3 separate regions of the Homo sapiens genome follow, and regions 2 and 3 are each linked to region 1. Evidence: promoter capture Hi-C in 16 types of primary human blood cells and fetal thymus (Javierre and others, 2016). All regions are on one chromosome and are shown on one strand. Each heading gives the region's core, a stretch centred on a gene start or on the middle of the fragment in contact. The rest is flanking DNA. Distances are from core to core; before and after follow the strand shown.

The links. Contacts are between HindIII fragments. The CHiCAGO score rates a contact against its expected background, and 5 or more counts as called.
Region 2: a contact is called between a fragment that was not itself captured here and the fragment with the promoter of PACSIN2 in region 1, in 1 of 17 cell types (neutrophils). The highest score is 5.9, in neutrophils.
Region 3: a fragment that was not itself captured here is called in contact with the fragment with the promoter of PACSIN2 in region 1 in 1 of 17 cell types (neutrophils); the score reaches 6.6 in neutrophils.

Annotation. Positions count from the first base shown.
Region 1 is chr22:43,013,474-43,016,957 of GRCh38, forward strand. It overlaps PACSIN2 (protein kinase C and casein kinase substrate in neurons 2), which reads right to left and starts at 1,676. Exons shown (of 11, transcript NM_001184970.3): 1 at 1,548-1,676. RefSeq lists enhancers at 1,278-1,981, 1,964-2,163 and silencers at 1,404-1,473, 1,594-1,643, 1,654-1,843. The HindIII fragment of the contact is 24,608 bases long and covers 1-3,484 here.
Region 2 is chr22:42,795,164-42,798,647 of GRCh38, forward strand. It overlaps ARFGAP3 (ARF GTPase activating protein 3), which reads right to left. Exons shown (of 16, transcript NM_014570.5): 16 at 1,339-2,442. The coding sequence ends at 2,425. Among named protein-coding and RNA genes, the nearest start is that of ARFGAP3, 60 kb to the right of the region's middle. The HindIII fragment of the contact is 478 bases long and covers 1,336-1,813 here.
Region 3 is chr22:42,818,260-42,821,743 of GRCh38, forward strand. All of the region lies in intron 9 of ARFGAP3 (ARF GTPase activating protein 3), which reads right to left. Among named protein-coding and RNA genes, the nearest start is that of ARFGAP3, 37 kb to the right of the region's middle. The HindIII fragment of the contact is 5,036 bases long and covers 1-3,484 here.

The DNA of each region.
Region 1 (3,484 bases), core at 426-2,925:
GAGATCCAAGTTGCACTGGCACAGCTTCAATGTCTCCATGAGGAGGCTGCATGCAGGCAGGCTCATGAATCAAGTGGAACGACAACATCTTGGGCAAGAACAGGAGGGCTGGCATTCAACACTGCCTGCCTGGTCGGTTCCCTTGCCCTGGGCTCCAACCTGGCAATCCCAGGAGGGTTAAAACAGAACTTCAGCACACGGGAATAACCGCAGAGGAAGGCACCGAAAAGGAGGGAAGGAAGAAGGTGTGAGCTCACCATCTGCAGCTGAGGTTCAAACTCTTTGAGCTGGTTTCCTGATTTTCATCAAGACAGCCAGGCAGTATTTGGTAAACAGTGTACCAAGTAGCCCTGGAGACTCTGAGCAGCCTACCCCCTTAACCACAAAAACACCGGACAGGCGGAGGGAAAAAGAGAAGACAGGATCCAGGAATGGTGCACACACCCAGCCAAAGGCCACCTTCCCTCAGGCACCCAAGCCAAGAGTGGCATCCCCAGGTCCTGTTATACGTCAAAGGCTGCAGCCGTGTGGGCCCCAAAGCAATAGCACAGCTTGCTCCCCTGACCAACCAACTCCTTCTGAAAAGAAAATCGACCTTCTCTGATGGAGCCGAAACCCAATGAATCAATGAAATTCAACAGCAGCAGCAATCACTACCTCTCCAATTGCGGACCTCTCAGGATGCCTGGCCAGGCTTGAAAGCCCTAGAGGAGTAAGGAGTTCGGATTTCTGATTCAGTGAGTCTGGGGAAACTCTGAGGAGGGTCACAAGGGCAAACCTCCCCGGCCTCTCCTGCTTGGCCCCAGCCCTAGGACGTGCTGCGGTAAGGGCTTTGCTCCCCCCGCCCTACACACACACACACACACACACACACACACAGACACACACACACCACCCCCCCCCCCCCGGGACACGGAGGGTGGGAAGGAAGGAAATGGAGGCCGCTCATCAAAGCGCCCGAAATCAGCGCACCCGCGTGTGTCCTGCGTCGCCCCCCAGGCCACCCCAGGACTAAGCCCTGCCCTCTCACCGGCGCGTCCCAGCCACGCCTTCCCTCCAGCGTTGCTCCGGCACCCTCGCCTAACCTCTGCACGTCTCGGATTCCCAGCTTTCTCCTAAATCGCGTCCCTCCAAAAGTCGCCCCAGCTCCCCCTTCTGCAGCTGTCTACACCTCCCCCACTCATTAGCAGCTCTTAACCCCCGACGGCCCTGCTCCTGCACTTCCCTCTCCAGCAGGCCCCGGACCCCGGAAAACTGCCCCGCTCCCACAGCGCCGCCCCCATGGGCCCCCGCCCCTTCCCCGAGCCGACCCCACTCGCCCTCGTCCTCCCCAAGATGTCTTCTCCAGGCGCCCCCCGGGGCCCCGAGCACTCGCCCCCTCCCACAGAGACAGGAAGTTCCGCGCGGCCCGACCCGCTTCCCTCAGGGCGCGGAGCTCGGCGCGGCGGCCCTGACGGGGCGCGGGCCCGGCCGCGGACCAGCGCCCCCGCGTCCCGCCCGCGGCGCCCCAACCGTCGCGGCGACCCCTGACCTCGGCGGCCACTCACCTCCCAATCCGTCGCACACTCCGTTCAGGCTGCCACGGCGTCTCCAGACCCAGCTCCGGCCGGGCTCCCGCTACCGCTTTTGCTCCGGCAGCACTGCCCAGCCCTGCCCAGACCCCTGCGGCCGCTTCTGCCGCCAGCCGCGACCGCACCGCCCCCGCCGCTCCCGCTGGGCTCTGTCCATTGGCTACCGGACACCGAGCCCCGCCCCACAGCCTCCCCGGCGCCCCCGATTGGGCCAGATGAGTAGAGAGGCGGCTCACCCCGCGTGAGGACGAGGGAAAGCCCCAGGACGCGCATTGGTGACTTCTCCTGTCAATCAAACGGGGAGTGCCTATTTAATGGGCTGCGAGGGTGGCGCAGATTACTCTCCCAAAGCCGCTCGCTGGTGGTGGTCCTTGAGACGCGCTTCCCGGGGCTGGAGTTTTGCGGTTTCGTCGGCATCCAGGGGTAAGAGGGCGCGGCAGGGCAGCACCGCACCTGACCGGAAGTTCAGGGAAGGTAATCCTACAGTCTTTCAGAAAGTTTCCTCTCCCAAGGGACTCAAAGAAGCTAATGTCGTTAGGAGCTCCTCCGACTTGCGCCAAAAGCGTCATTCCACGTGGACCCGCTTAGTTTAAACGGGGGGTTGGGGGGGCGTATGTTGCTGCTCTCTCTAATAAAATATATTTGGATGGCAAGGCACCAGGCAATGCACACGCATTCTTTCCAATTCTCACAATCACCTTGCATGATAGGGTATTAGCCCCGTTCTGCAGAGGGAAATACTCTTGAAGGAAAATGGAGAGCACTTCCTGAGCACTGTCCTACGCGCTGTCCAAGCACTGCTTCATGTCATCCAGGTGGAGAGGATGGTGAGAGGAACCCCAGGTGAGGGGTGAGCCAGGTAACTTGCTGGGGGTGATGTGGAGTAAAGAGAGTAAATGGCAGAGCCAGGATTAGAAACCCAGGTCAGCCCAACCCTTGAGAATAATAATGATGACTGTGTAGCACTATGGGAAAATGCTTAAACTAAAACGTTAAAAGAAAAAGCCAGATAGAGCCAGGCATGGTGACATGCACCTGGAATCCCAGCTTCTTGGGACGCCGAGGCAGGAGAATCGCTTCAGCCCAGGAGTTTGAGGCCAACCTGGGCCACATAGCAAGACCCAGTTCTCTAAAAAGTAAAATAAAAGAAAATAATAATAAAAGAAAAAGCTAGATACAAAATGGTAGAAACTGTAGAATTGCTGCTACATATAGATAGGTATGAGAAAAGAGTCCACAAAGAAATCTAGTGGTTGTTTACTTTCTAGACTGCTCTGTGGCATTGTCCTTATGACAATAATTGAGAAAGAAACAAAAGAACCGGCTAGGCACGGTGGCTCACGCCTGGAATCCCAGTACTCTGGGAGGCCGAGGCGGGCAGATCACAAGGTCAGGAGTTTGAGACCAGCCTGGCCAACACAGTGAAAGCCTGTCTCTGCTAAAAATACAAAAAATTAGCTGGGTGTGGTGGCATGCACCTGTAATCCCAGCTACTTGGGAGTCTGAGGCAGGAGAATCACTTGAACCTGGGAGGCGGAGGTTGCAGTGAGCCAAGATCACGCCACTGTACTCCAGCCCTGGCGACAGTGCGAGACTCCATCTCAAAAAAAAAAAAAAAAAACCAACACACAGTGCCAGGACAAACCACTGCCAAGAAGTCTCTCCTCATTCTCCAGGACTGAGCCAACAGGGACCTCTTTGCCACCCACAATACCTGTGGACCATTTGTATAGATAGAACTCAGCCATCAGCTCTCAGCACTTTCATATCTGGGTAAGTTCCGCTTACATCGCAATTCCATGCCCTATAAAAATATAGAGCCTTGTCGGGCGCTGTGGCTCACGCCTGTAATCCTAGCACTTTGGGAGGCCGAGACGGGCGGATCACGAGGTCAGGAGATCAAGACCATCCTG
Region 2 (3,484 bases), core at 325-2,824, 220 kb before region 1:
CCTGCTGAAAACACACCCCGTTGCCACTCCCTTGCAACTAGGGGGGCCTGGGACGCAGTTCTGGCTGGGGAGAAAAAGGCACAAGTCCCTCGCTGGGAGTCAGCCCTTTCTCCTCTCCTTGTTCTTGCGCAGAGGCCTGGAAGGGAGGATGCCATCTGTGACAAGCAGGAGGGGAGGGCTGGTGTGGCAAGGACAGTGCGGTTAAGGGCAAGCCAGCTCAAGTCCTGCCAGCTTGGATGGTACACCTGGGACTTCCTACCTGCGACAATAACCCGTCTGCTCCGGCCCCCACAGGGACCAGCCTCTGCATACACTCTTCAGTGGTCCGCCTGTGAAGCCAATTTGCTGAAAGACGACTCCCAAAATGTCTGGTGCTTCCAACGTATCTGTCAGTCTTCACCTCTATTTAAAGACACCGGTAGTAGATGAAATGGGTTTCCTAGCTCTCTGGAAGGTATCTGCCGAGTTCTCCAGTTTCCATTTTGCCATCTTAATAGCATTTTAAGGAATGCTCAAATGTCTCTATCTATCTCAGATTCCTGATTCTGAGACCCTGAGGACACTGAGTGTCAAAGATGGGAGGACTGAGGGGAAAAGGGGAGGACTAAGAGACGGGGTAGGGGAGATCGAGAGGCAGGTGGGGAGACTGAGGGGCGGGGGGAAGGGGGATGAGGAGCCTGAGGGGCAGGGGGGAAACCGAGGGGCAGTGGAGAGGGGCTGGGGGGAGACTGAGGGGCAGGGGGGAGACCGAGGGGAAGGGGAGGGGCAGTGGGGAGGGGCATGGAAGGCACATGACAGGCACCTTCAGCTAAGGCTCTGGGAGTGGGGAGTCAATCCCCTCCCTTCCTCTTTTTTTTTTTTCTTTTGAGACAGGGTCTTGCTCTGTCATCCAGGCTGCAGTGCAGTGTCCAGGTCGTAGCTCATTGCAGCCTTGACCTCCTGGGCTCAAGGGATCCTCCTGCTGCAGCTTCCTGAGTAGCTGGAATTACAGGCACATGCCACTGCACCCGGCTGAATTTTTTCTTTTTTGGTAGAGGCGGGGTCTTGCTGTGTTGTCCAGCCTGGTTTCAAACTCCTGGGCTCAGGCAATCCTCCCGCCCCAGCCTCCTAAGGTGCTAGGATTACAGGTGTGAGCCGCCTCACCTGGCCCAACATCCCCATTTTCAACCGGGACACCCCGCCTTGCTCCTGTGCTACAAACAACATCCCAAATTCATCACAACTGCACAGCAGGCCCCGCACGCACGCTAAATCCACGTCCACCTACAGTCACCACAATTCAAACGTTCATCAATGTCACACCAAAAACCTCGACTTACGATGACTTATTACGAAAGCTTTCAGGGAAAAATGTAGGCAATGCCATCTGCTGCAAGTGTTTATTCTATTTAGAAGTCTACAAATTTGAGCTTTTAAGAAAGATTCACAAAATATTCATTCAAAACCACATTTTTGGCTTATCAAATTTCAAATATATTTTACTGTGCTGAACAATATATTCTAATGCTGTCTAAAACACAGCTAAATTATTTTTCTTTATTTGTTTATACACATTCGGTAATTTCTGAAAAGCAAGATTTAAAAATATTTATTAACAAAACTACCCAATTACAATGACTGTTCTCCCATACACGCAACTATTTTCTGTAGCTGTATCTTCTTACCTCATTCCACTTTAACTCTGTATACCGTATTGATTTGTGATGAGATGATTTATTATGAGAACTCTTAGGGAGTTCTCATCTTCCATTTCTCATCAATTCAAACAGCAACACCTTTCACAAGATAACATTAATTCCCTTGGCAGGGCAGAAGCTTAAGTTTGTTAAAAGCACTCACTGAAAAACATTTTTAAATTTATAGGTCATATAAAATAATTTACAAAGAGACAGATGACTTCAAATATTATTTGGCAGTCACCTTACTATGTAGAAACATAAATGAAGCAATCTGTCACACGAGACACCAGTCACTTTTGGTCTTTTGAAGGAAGTGTGTGTGGTGAGTGTTGTTTCTGCAGGCCCATCCAGCATCCGCTGATTCTGGCAGCCCTGAGCCCATGTGTCACATGGAGACCTCTCCTCCTCCCCCACATGAAGCCTCCTGGTTCAGGAGCAGGAGGAGCCGAGGTCTCCAGGCCCTCAGTGTTGAAATCAAAGGTTCCAAGAAAATAAAGCAAGGATATACACAGAGACGCCAAAGGAGGGTGTGACAGGAAGGAACGTGAAACAGAAATCACAGGAAAGCTCCTACATCAGAACTCAGAATTTCTCAAAAGAAATATTAAAAATCAGAAACATATACCATATGAAAAAGTAGCAAAACAATCTGCAAAACTATCTGGACTTCACTGCCGCCTGAGATGTGGTTACTTGTTCATTTAAAGAGGAATTTCTCCAGGAAATACACATCATGACTTCAGTATTAAGAACCGTAGCGATCCTGAAGAGAGAACCAAAATGGAAGTTCACGACCATTCAGCAGCGATCCCTGACTCCCACGCCCTGAATATTCAGCATCACCCAAATTGACACTGCAGCCCATGTCAGGCATGTGACATGGACGCTGCACCCCGAGGGTGTGCTCATCTGGAAGCAGCCATTGCTGCAGCTTCAAGGCTGAGGGTAGGTGTGGGCTTCAGAACCCAACAGGATTCACATCCTGCCTCTGGCATCCACGGCCACAGTCCTGGGATCAGGAGGCAGGGAGCAAAGTGGGCGGGAGGATGCTCAGTGGGCCAGAGGCAACTTGCTGAGCCCTCTGGGAAGCAAGTGGGAAACGGAAGACAAAGGAACACATTTGGTGTTTGAAGCCCTGAAATTTTGGTTCAGCTGGTCATCTTGCAGAAGTGACCTAACCTTCTGTGCCTCAATTCCTTCACCTGTAAAATGGGGATATAAAAGGGAGCCATCTCTAAAATGGGGATGACCATCTATAAAATAGGGATGTTACCTATTTGGACACTGATGTGGGCTTAGCTGACCTAAGGGACATGAAAGAGCTCTATGCATTTTAACTTCAGTGCCACATGAAAGGGAAGACTGTGCTATTCACAGCATGAAAACGGCTACATCCAGAGTCCTGGGGCTGAGGGAACTCTCCGGAATGGGTGCACCTCCACGCCCTCCTTGAACTGCAGCTAGAGCAGCATCTGCCTGGGGACCAGGAATCTCCTTTGGAGGCACCAGAGTCCACACGGTTTCAGTCCTACTTCCTTTAGCAGCGTTTTACATTAATACAATCCTTCTTCAATAGCCTGACGTAAACAAGAAGGTGCAAAGAAACGAGCCACTCATATCGTCACAGATGGCCTCGACTCTCATGCGCAAGTATGCGCCATCCTTGGCTTATGTTTTCACTCAATAGAATGTGGTTTTAGGAAAACTTTTCATTACAAGGAAATGCTCCCAGCATCACAGAGAAAAAGCAAGATATAAAACCCTCTATACAATATAATCCCTTTTTAACTTTAAAAAGATAGATA
Region 3 (3,484 bases), core at 425-2,924, 200 kb before region 1:
AAGATAAATAAATAAATATATAAATTTGACTTTACAAATAGATCAACTAAGGGGCTATTACTTAATTGTAAAAGGATCCTTCCATTTACAAAATAATTTCTTGTAGATACATCTCTATGCAATCAGGCTTCTGAGAGCATTTAAAATGGGATAGTGACTCATCAGCTAATAGACTCTTTAGCACTACTAGTCAGTCAAATACCACTCTTCTATTTAAAATCAAATATCTGCTACAAGCAGGACACCAAAGGGGTAAAAAGGTGTACAAAACATTGTCCTTGCTCTCAGATTTCTAAAAATGCAATAATGACTTAATTTTTCATAAAGAAAACTATGCCTATATAGCAAGAATAGCAGTTTGCATCATATTTTAGTGAGACAGCACAACATTTCAGGGCCCTGAAAAATGATCTATCTAACTTACAAGGATTTCTAAGTTATCATCCACTTTATAAAAACATGTAAAATACCATGAATTCCTGGCAAAAGAGGCATTGTATAAATTCCTAGTAATATAAATAAATTTCTGCATAGTAATAGGGAAAGACAACAGAATTTCTTTCTGTTTTTTGAAATGGAGTCTTGCTCTGTCGCCCAGGCTGGAGTGCAGTGGTGCAATCTTGGCTCACTGCAACCTCCACCCACGAGGTTCAAGCAATTCTCCTGCCTCAGCCTCCCGAGTAGCTGGGATTACAGGCACCTGCCACCATATCCAGCTAATTTTTCTATTTTTAGTAGAGACGAGGTTTCACCATGTTGGCCAGGCTGGTCTCGAACTCCTGACCTCAGGCGATCTGCCTGCCTCTGCCTCAAAGAGTCCTGGGATTACAGGCATGAGCCACCGCGCCCGGTGCAGAATTTCTTATTAGGAAAAAGTAATCTTGCTTTTGCTGTTTCTTTTCTTTAATGAGTCAAGCAAGATTTCTTTGGTTTTCACATGGCAGTTTGTTTTCCTTACTCTTCCTACAGAACAGGTTATGGCTATTTTATTCCTTAACAAATAAATACTACTTTTTCTTTTGGAGGAAAACAATAGCTCTGTTTAAAATCATGAATACATATAATTACAGCAACAGATTCTTCTGGAGAAGATGCATGGGGATGAAAAGGTTCTATTAGAAAGATAAGAGATGGAAAAGTTTTCCTTCCTAGGTAATCTGACATGGACTGGGTCACTCACTAAAAGCATGCACTTTGATGCTTACGAGAACATCTCTCTGGAAGCACCAACAGTTAAGAAGTCAGAACACCGCGTTTCTCAGAACTTCAGGAGTGCTTACGGGTACTGGCTCAAGGGAGGACTGCAGGACACAGATCAAACAAGCGGAGCAGCTCAAGGCAGCTCTGCCTCTTCCTTCCTTCCTACCAAGTGGGCACACAGAGAGCCTCTGAGGACGGGCTGGGAAACTGCTAGAAGGAGACCAGGATGCTGCATGGGCTGTTTAGTTTCACACTCTGACAGTACAAGAACAACACTGTTCTGACAGTTTACTGAGCCGAAATAACTTTATTTACAGCCATTAAACAAACTAACTTGCAACATAACACTCATGTATTAAGGATAAAACACCTGTACTTTCTACGGGTTTGAGTGGCAGTGGTGGTCATTAAGGCACAGTGGTGTGGTTGTTCTGAACAAGGCCATGAAAGTTGCCAAACTGGCTTCTCAAATCAAATTCATAAATCTTCCGATCTGCATCTTTGTTTTTGTGATGTATTAAACACTCCTAATGAAAGATACAAGTGAAGTCTGGTTGTTGCTTCCTGTTTTCAGGAAGATTAGCATGTTAATATTAGAAGTAACAACCAGACTTCACTCCATCCAGCTTACCTGCAGCTTCTCCATCCAGCTTACTTGCAGGAAGGAAGCTGATCAGGGCCCGATTTTACACACGCTCTGGGAAAACCTCAAGCATGAGTAATCTGGACAGAGCCTACTCCCAAATACCAAGAGAAGCCATCGAAACACTCAAATCTAACCTTTCCCTTTGCCAGGGTCAAAAACTTAGCTTAGTAAGAGAAATTAAAGTCTGTGACAAGTCAACGTAAATTTTTGTACACAAAGCATTTCAAACCATATTCGACCTAAATACAGTTCAGTGCTGCCCCCTATGTTCTGTGAATTAAATGACAAGGAGAAACAACTATCAACTTCAAATTATTTGGGTTTACCTTATAAACTCCATCTTAGCGAACCGTCAGTATGAACAGTAAGACAGTACGAAAAGTAGTTGCATTTACTGAGCACCTACTATGTGCCAGGTACTGTTTGATGCACTTCAATGAGCATTTAAGCTATTAAACTAATCCTTAAAACCACCTCATAAAATAGGTGTTATTTTCTTCATCATACAGTCTATAGTAACTCAAGCTAAAACAGATAAAATACACATGAAAGTAAGAGAAAACACCATTAAAAAACACACACATAAAAAATAGGGATCCAGGTTACTTTTCCTTTCTGTGTAGCATGCACCCTCCGCCCTTCTCTCCTGATCTTTGGTACAGTCACGGTTTCCAGAAGGCCATCTTTCTCTTCTGATTTCAACACAAATGAAAACCTCTCAAGAGCCTTACAAAAGTCTACGGAAAACCGATCTCTTCACTGGCCTCCTGGCTTCCAGTCTCCTCCCCTCTTCCTGGCCTGGGTATCACTACCGAACTCATTCTCCCGAGACGCCCCTTCATGACAGCACTGCTGAAGGAGCTGTTTCTCTTGGGTAAGTGGACAACCACAGCCTGACTTTAAGGTGCTCCACATTATCGTTCCAACTCCTCCACTTCAGGCAGGCCCCCGACACACACGATCATTCCACCTTCTTCATTCTCTGAAACTCTTCCTTCTCCCTCTCCAAGATCCAGGCTCAGAACCTCTGGAGACACGACCAGAGCCATAGTCTTCCATCATGTATTTAGAATTTAGTCACAGAGTCCAACAGGGCTTCAGATTATAAATACTTTTTTCATTATGCAGATATAATTCACATACCGTAAAACTCACCCTGTTAAAGTGCATGATTCAGTGGTTTCAGCACATTCACAAAGCTGTGCCATCATCACCACTAACTCCAGAACACTTTCAGCAGTCCAAAAAGCAGGCCTGGACCATTAGCAGCCACTCTCCATTCTCTCCTCACCCCAGGCCCTGGCAACCAGTAAGTTGCTTTCTGTCTCTACGGATTTGCCTATTCTGGACATTGCATATAGACAGAATCATATCATGTGATCTTTTATGACTGGCTTCTTTCTTAGCATAAACTTTTCAAGGTTTATCCATGTTGTGGCCAATATCAGGACTACATTCCTTTTTGTGGCTGAGTAATAGTCCATTGTATGGACATACCACATTTTCTTTCTCATTTATCAGTTGGTAGACATTTAGCTTATTTCTACTTTTTGGCTATTAGGATTAACGCCACTATGAACATTCATGCACGAGTTTGTGTGTGGTTGCACAGATGTAAGTTTTAATTTCTCTTGAGTA